Linked DNA regions of Homo sapiens: region 1 is linked to region 2. The links are contacts of gene promoters, found by promoter capture Hi-C in human tissues and cell types (Jung and others, 2019). All regions are on one chromosome and are shown on one strand. The core of a region is centred on a gene start or on the middle of the fragment in contact, and the rest is flanking DNA. Distances in the headings are between cores, read along the strand shown. Region 1 holds the start of CYP4F22 (cytochrome P450 family 4 subfamily F member 22). Region 2 has its middle 3.8 kb from the start of SYDE1.

Region 1 (3,842 bases), core at 693-3,192, 410 kb before region 2:
CTTCATCCATTAAGACAGAAGCCCTATTTACCCACCTCATGGGGCTGCAATCTTCCAGGCACATAGTAAGCCTTTGATCAATGATATCTCTCATTACCGTTGGTGCTGCCATCACGTTCATTATTGTGACCTGGCCATCTGGGGTTTGGAGAATCAGGTCCAAGTTTTATCAACAAGGAGAGATGAGTCAGGCGCAGTGGCTCATGCCTGTAATCCCAGCACTTTGGGAGGCTGAGGCGGGTGGATCACTTGAGCCCAAGAGTTCAAGACCAGCCTGGGCAACATGGTGAAACCCCATCCCTACCAAAAATACAAAAAGTAGACAGGAGTGGTGGTGCATGCCTGTAGTCCTCCATACTCAGGAGGCTGAGGTAGGAGGATTGCTTGAACCCAGGAGATCGAGGCTGCAGTGAGCTATGATTATGCCACTGCACTCCTGCCTGGGTGACAAAGTGAGACCCTGTCTCAACAACAACAACAAAAAAAGAAAGAAAGAAAGAAAGAGAGAGAGACAGAGAAAAGAAAGAAAGAAAGAAAGAAAGAAGGAAGGAAAGAAAGAAAGGAAGGAAGGAAGGAAGGAAGGAAGGAAGGAAGGAAGGAAGGAAGGAAGGAGAGATGGGTCCCATTCCCTGAATGCCTCTCAAGTCATCCAAGCCCCTCTGCAGATACCAACCTGGGTCACCGCCAGACACCAGGCCAGAGTTAATGTTACTGTTCAGAAACCCAAGCTGGGCCATTTGGTGATGCCGGGGACATCGGAAAGTGGACTGAGGCTTTGGGGTCAAACAGGGCTTGTTTTTTCAAATCCCAGCTCTCCCACTGGGCACTGGGTATCCACAGGCACAGGCTTCTTCTCTCTGGCCCTCAGTTTCCGTGCCTGTAAAATGAGGGTGGTAGGGAAGATTTGGGGAGGTTCCTTCTCTTTGGGGTTTGGAGTTACACAAGAAGGAGTTTGATGCTGCCAGCCCTGGCTGGGCACAGCTCCAGGACCTAGAAATAAGGGGTGGAGCAAGGGGCACAGGGTAGGAGGAATTTCGGGTACGCAGCCAGCCCTGGCCATCTCCTTTGCCTACAGGGCGGTGAGACTCACAATGAGTGCATGAATGAGCTGTGAGCGGGCAGATGAACCAGGAGAGATGCCCTGAGCCTAGGCCTCTCCAGCCTGCGACTCCCCAGGTGGCCAGCCTCGGCCAACTTGCATACCCAGGCTGGGCCAGGCCCCTGGGAGGCCAGAAAACATCTTCCTTCCAGCATCTATCAGACGAAGATCACCTGGGACCAACCCCAGGACCTCACACAACCCTCAGAGCCAACTCTCGGGGCCAGAAGAACACCGTCTTTTCATAGAGGGGCTCTGCGTCTGGCATGGATGGGCAGAGGGTTCCTGATAGCAGTTGAACCACAAGCCTAACCCCATCGGTTGAATGTACTACAACCTCCCCGTCAAGACAACGTGCAGTGGTGAAATCTCAGGGCGAATCCCCATTCAGCCCCAAAGAGGCGTCCCAGGGCGGGGCTTGAACCCATCTGGGATGTCCTGACTACCAGAGGGGTCTTTTGGAGGCCCCCTGCCCATCACAGATACCCAGAGAAAAGGATGCGCCTAGGACTCCGAGGCGCACACAGAAAAAAAAAAAAAGAAAACAACTCACAAATGCAGCAAACGTCGGGGACACACCCACGTGCCCCTCTCCCCACGAGTGCCCCGGGCATGCAGCCCCGTCCTGGGTCCTGGGGGGGTCCCCGTGGCCGGCTGCGCCCCGCCCGCCGCCGCGCGCAGACCTTCGCCCTTGCCCCGCCAGCACCGAACCGCGCGAGCCTCGGGTTCCAGCGCAGCGCCGCGGCCGCGCTCAGGTTACAGCCCTCACCACGCGCGCACTCACCCGCGGGTCTCAGCCTCCTGCCCTCGATCCGGATCCACCGGCGCCACTACCTGGGATCTGACCGCGCCGTCCCACGGCCCAACCCTTTAACCCCGCCCGGCCGTGCCGAGGGGTCCGCCCCCGGACATCCCGCCCCGGGCTCCCGCAGGGTTCTGGGCGGGGACTCCAGCGCTGCCCCCTAGAAAAGGAGAGAACAAGAAATAGGCGTGTGGAGGGGTGGAGAGCGATGGAAAGAGAGAGAGACTGAGACTGAGATGGAGAGATGAAGAGAGACAGAGACTTGGACACCTAGAAGTCCCAAACCATCAGGCTCCCCGCCCTCCTGCCACTGCTGGGCCGCATTAGCGCCCAAGTCCCGCTCTGGACCACACTCCTCCCACACCAACACCCCCCATGGCCCTTACTTCCAGGTTTGCTCCCAAGCTTGGACAGCGATCTCTAAACCATCACCCCCTGGGGCCCCACTGACCCCCCCGAGAAGCCTCCTCTGGGGCCCTCAGGAATTCTCTGGCTCCACCAGCCCTTGGGAACCAGCCCTTCCCCTCTCTCTGGATCCTGGGCCTAAGCTTCCCCGGCACCCACCCCTGGAGGCTCTGCAGCCTCTTCCTCCAGGAAGACCTCCAACCTCAACAAGCAGCACCAGACTGGTTCTGCTCCCCGCCAACCCGCCCTCCGCCACTCCTCCCCACCCACTGCCAGACACCTTGACCCTCTGACCAGGATGTTGTCCTTGGCCAACCCGTCTACTCCAGATGTGTGGAGACAGAGTCAGCTCCGCCTCTGGATGTGTCTGTCCTCCGGAGTCGGTGGGTGGATGTGTGGCTGACCTTAGCACGTGGGCAGACAGATGAGAAGACAAGAATCTCCACTTGCCCCAGCAGGTGGTAAACTTAGAAGACTTCCTTATCCCTCTTTTTTCTAAGAATACGCTCTCATTTGGTGCTGGGCCCTTGGAAAGAGGGCGTGGGAGGTGTGGGGCATGTCTCCTGGTGAAGAAGAGGAGACACAAGTAATTGAAGTTTTGCTGCTTGGAGGAGGCAGACATGAGGTCAGGGAAGGCGACGTGGAGGATGTGACACTTGAGCTGGGACTGCATGGAGAGGTTGGATTTCAACAAGTGCAGGAGAGGGGGTAGAGCTCAAGCACAGAGAAACTGGAGGGTGTGACTTAGCAGATGGCTTTCCCTGGCCTTGGAGTGTGAGAGGTGTGGAGGCTGGAGGGATGCAGGAGTTGACTGTGAAGGCCAGTTTGAATGGCTGGATCTTGATCTGGTGGGCAGTGGGGAGCCATGGATGGTGCTTGAGTAGGGGAGGTGCCCCCTGTTAGTTGATTGGTCTCACTCTGTCATCCAGGCTGGGGTGACTCCTGGGCTCAAGCCATCCTCCTGCCTCAGCCTCCTGGGTAGTTGGGACTACAGACACGTGCCACCACACCCAGCTAATTTTTTTTTTTCATTTTTTTAGAGACAGGGTCTCACTATGTTGCCCAGGCTGGTCTCAAACTCCTGGGCTCAAGCCATTCTCCCAGCTCCTAGAACTTTTAAAAAAAAATATTTATATTTATTTGTGTCTTTAATCTTTTTTACTTCTGAGGAAGAGCTTATTTTATTAATTTTTTATTCATAATTAACGCAGCATGAAAGCCTATTTTTTAGGGATATGAATTTTGTTTTGCCAGTAATTCTGGCCAAGGGGGAGCTTACTAGAAGCACTTTGGAAAATGCAGAGATCCACATAGAGTGAAGTTTGAGAGGGACCCCTCCAGTGGCTGCAGGGGACAGAGACAAAGGGTGGGGGTAGCTGAGACCCAGGAAGGGGTTAAGGATGAGGTCCCGGAGGTCATCTCCACTGACCACTGGCTAAATACGGGGTTCTAGGGAAGAGAGAAGGAAAAGAAGCCATCTGCCTGGCTTCTCTGCTCTCAAAGAGCTGGAGACCAGGAAGGAGGAGTAAGTGAAAG
Region 2 (3,826 bases), core at 1,145-3,644:
AAACAAAACAAAAAACCCTCCTGGTCTCAAGTGATCTGCCCGCCTTGGCCTACCAAGTAGCTAGGATTACAGACCTGAATCAAGGTAGTGGCCCTGACTACCCTAGTTTATGTTGTCAGGAGCTTCTAAGTCTGTGTCACAGGCATGTCCATAACCTTGGCAAAATAAGCTTTCTAAATTTATTGAGACTTATCTGAGATACCTTTTGGTTTACATGATGCTCACAGATGCTGTGGTTCAGTTTGGACAGGGGAGACTTAGGCTAGAGGGTGACTAAAAAATGGCAGGGTCCTGAGTCATCTGGAGGTGTCTTCACTCAGAGGTCTTGCAACTGACGCCAGCTGTTGCTGGGGCTGTGGACCAGGGTAGCTACACAGGCCTCTCCGTGTGGTTCGGGTTTCCTTCCAGCATGGTGGTCTTGGGGTAGTCAGACTTCTTAGACAGCCACCCAGCCCTCTAAAAGTGAACAAGGAAGAAGTTGCATCTCTTCTGACCCAGCCTTGAGTGTCATGCTGTGTCACTTCTGCCACCAGATTCAAGGAAAGGGGGCACAGATTATACCTCTCTACATGGGAGGCATGTCAAGGTGACATTGTACAAGTGGATGTAGGGTGGGAGATATTGTGGCCATCTGGGAAAATATAACCTGTCTTAGCCCTACATTTCATTCTCCATATATTACCCACAGTGGACTTAAAACTGAAATCAGATTGTGGCACCATCCTGCTGAATAGTGTTCCTATGACTGCTCACCTCACCTAGAATAAAATTCAGATTCCCAGCATGGTCTCACAAGACTTCCAGCCTCATCTCTTTGGCTGTCCCATTCACTCACCATGGCCTCCTTTCTGGTTCTCCTTCATATCAAGCTATTTCTGCCTCAGGTCCTTTGCACACATGGTTCCTTCTGCCTGGGAAGCCCTGGTTCTTCTGAGGCCACCTCTCTCTCATCCTTTAGGTCCAATGGCACCTTCTAGGGAGACCCTTTCTGTCCACCACCTCTGTCTAGTCAGTATCACATTACTCAGTTTCCTTTCTTCTAACACTTGCCACAACTTGAATTTAACAGTCCCAGTGGTTTGTTCTAGTTTATCTGCCTCCTCGTCCAGACTGGGTCTCCACCAAGTGATCAAGTGATGCTTGTCTATGTTGTTCACTGCTGAATATTCAGGTAGGAGATCAGGTGTCAGGTGATGGAGGTCTGTATAGGAGGGGGTGTCCAAGAGGCCTGGACGAGGAGGCTGTGTGTGTTTGGTTTTAATGTGTCTTTGTGTGGTTCTCTGTGTTTATTGTACTTGGAGTTTGTTGAGCTTTGTGGATATGTAGATTCATGTCTTTCATCAATTCTGGGCTTCTGGGAAGTTTTTTGGCCATTATTTCATCAAATATTATTATTATTATTTTTTGAGATGGAGTCTCACTCTGTTGCCCAGGCTGGAGTGCAGAGGCATGGTCTTGGCTCACTGCAACCTCTGCTTTCTGGGTTCAAGTGATTCTCCTGCCTCAACCTCTCAAGTAGGTGGGGTTACAGGTGCCTGTCACCATGCCCAGCTAATTTTTGTATTTTTAGTAGAGATGGGTTTTCGTCATGTTGGCCAGGCCGGTCTCAAATTTCTGACCTTAAGTGATCTGCCCACCTTGGCCTCCCAAAGTGCTGGGATTATAGGCATGAACCACCATACCCAGCCTCATCAAATATTCTTTCTGCTCCTTTCACTTCTCTCCTTCTGGGACTCTCATTATGCATATATTGGTATACTCATTATACAACTGTTGATATACAGTTCTCCTAGGTGCTGTTCACTTTTCTTGGATATGTGTGTTTGGGGGGCATCAGTCTGTAAAAGGGTGGAGTGCACCCTCCTCCCTATGAGATCCCTGCGCAGATGTCTTTGAGGCAGCTATTGACAATGGGGAAAGAAGTCAGGGGTCAAGACAATACCTGTTTACAAGTTGAGGGTAGAGGCTGCAGGACTAAGGTCCCAATGGGGTATTTCAGAGTCTCAGAGGAGCTGGGGTCTGACATGGGAGTGAGAGCAACCCTTAGCCCCACCCATATGACACCCACATACCACATAAATATTTATTATTATTATTTTGTGTAAATCTTTTTGAGTTTTTGTACTTTTCCTGTTGTCTTTATTTGCCTGCATGTAGCCTATTTAATTCACCATTGGCTCTGATTCTTTCTTAGCAATCAGAAATTTCCATAAGTGAGAACAGATTATCTGCAAATTGTATGTAATGAAATGGTTATGAATTCTAAGTTTCATAATGATGTTTGTATGCTTATTCCTGTGGATTTTGCTAGTTGCTGTACAGATTTTAGAGCCTGTATGCGTACATTTTCTTTTCTTTTCTTTTATAGAGACATAGTCTTGCTTTGTTGCCCAGGCTGGAGTGCAGTGGCACGATCTTGGCTTACTGCAACCTGTGACTCCCTGGTTTAAGCGATGCTGCTGCCTCAGCCTCCTGAGTAGCTGGGATTACAGGCACACACCACCACGTGCAGCTAATTTTTATATTTTTAGTAGAGATGGGGTTTCACCATGTTGGCCAGGATGGTCTCGATTTCCTGACCTTGTGATCCATCCACCTTGGCCTCCCAAAGAGCTGAGATTACAGGGGTCAGCCACCGTGCCTGGCCCATTTTCTTTTCTTTTAAAAAAATTTATTTTCATGGCCGGGCACTGTGGCTCATGCCTGTAATCCCAGCACTTTGGGAGGCTGAGGCGGGTGGATCACGAGGTCAGGAGTTCAAGACTAGCCTGGCCAAGATGGTGAAACCCCGTTTCTACTAAAAATATAAAAATTAGCTAGGCATGGTGGCAGGCACCTGTAATCCCAGCTACTCGGGAGGCTGAGGCAGGGGAATCGCTTGAACCCAGAGGGTAGAGGTTGGAGTGAGCCAAGATCGTGCCACTGCACTCCAGCCTGGGTGACTAAGACTCTGTCTCAAATTTTTTAAAAATTATTTTCATGTTATTTTTATTTACTTTATTATTATTATTTTATTTATTTTTCTTGCTCTGTTGCTCAGGCTGTAGTGCAGTGGCACTACCACAACTCACTGCACCCTCAACCTCCTAGGCTCAAGTGATGTTCCTGCCTCAGCCTCCCAAGCAACTGGAACTACAGGCATGTGCCACCATGCCACAGGCTGATTTTTCTATTTTTTTGTGGAGATAGGGTCTCATCATGTTGCCTAGACTGTTCTCAAACTTCTGGGCTCAAGTGATCTTCCCACTTTGGCCCCCCAAGTGGCTGGGATTACAGGTGTGAGCCACCGTGCTTGGCCTTATTATTTTTAGAGACATAATCTCCCTCTGTCACCCAAGCTGGTGTGCATTGGTGTGATCATAGCTCACTGCAGACTTGAACTTCTGGGTTCAAGCAATCCTCTTGCCTCAGCCTCCTGAGTGGCTAGGCCTATAGGCATGCACTGCCATACCCAGCTAGCTTTTAAATTTTTTTTGTAGAGACAGGATCTTGCTATGTTGCCCAGGCTGGTCTCAAACTCCTGACCTCAAGCGATCCTTCTTCCTTGGCCTCTCAAAGTGCTGGGATTACAGGTGTGAGCCACTGCACCTGGCCACGTGTGTGTTTTCTTTCCCCTAAATGTTCTCATTGGCTGCAGGTCTGATGTGCTGTGCTTTTGGTACCTGGTGGATTAACCAGCCCCAGACACATATAGACCAATTAGTTGAAAGACCAAAAGACCATTTCCTGTCAGTTTTGGGCAGAGCTCAGCACCTCTGTGGTAGTCAAGGGGAATTGATGGATAAATACCCCAGCTCCCTCACCCTTGTGTTGGATGATTGAGGTT

Evidence for each region. Contacts are between HindIII fragments. The study calls those that stand out against the background at their distance.
Region 1: a contact is called between the fragment with the promoter of CYP4F22 here and a fragment that was not itself captured in region 2, in 6 of the 25 tissues and cell types used here (aorta, bladder, dorsolateral prefrontal cortex and 3 more).

Annotation. Positions count from the first base shown.
Region 1 is chr19:15,506,625-15,510,466 of GRCh38, reverse strand. It overlaps CYP4F22 (cytochrome P450 family 4 subfamily F member 22), which reads right to left and starts at 1,942. Exons shown (of 14, transcript NM_173483.4): 1 at 1,884-1,942. RefSeq lists an enhancer at 1,798-2,298. The HindIII fragment of the contact is 20,579 bases long and covers 1-3,842 here.
Region 2 is chr19:15,101,692-15,105,517 of GRCh38, reverse strand. No RefSeq gene overlaps it. Among named protein-coding and RNA genes, the nearest start is that of SYDE1, 3.8 kb to the left of the region's middle. The HindIII fragment of the contact is 6,045 bases long and covers 1-3,826 here.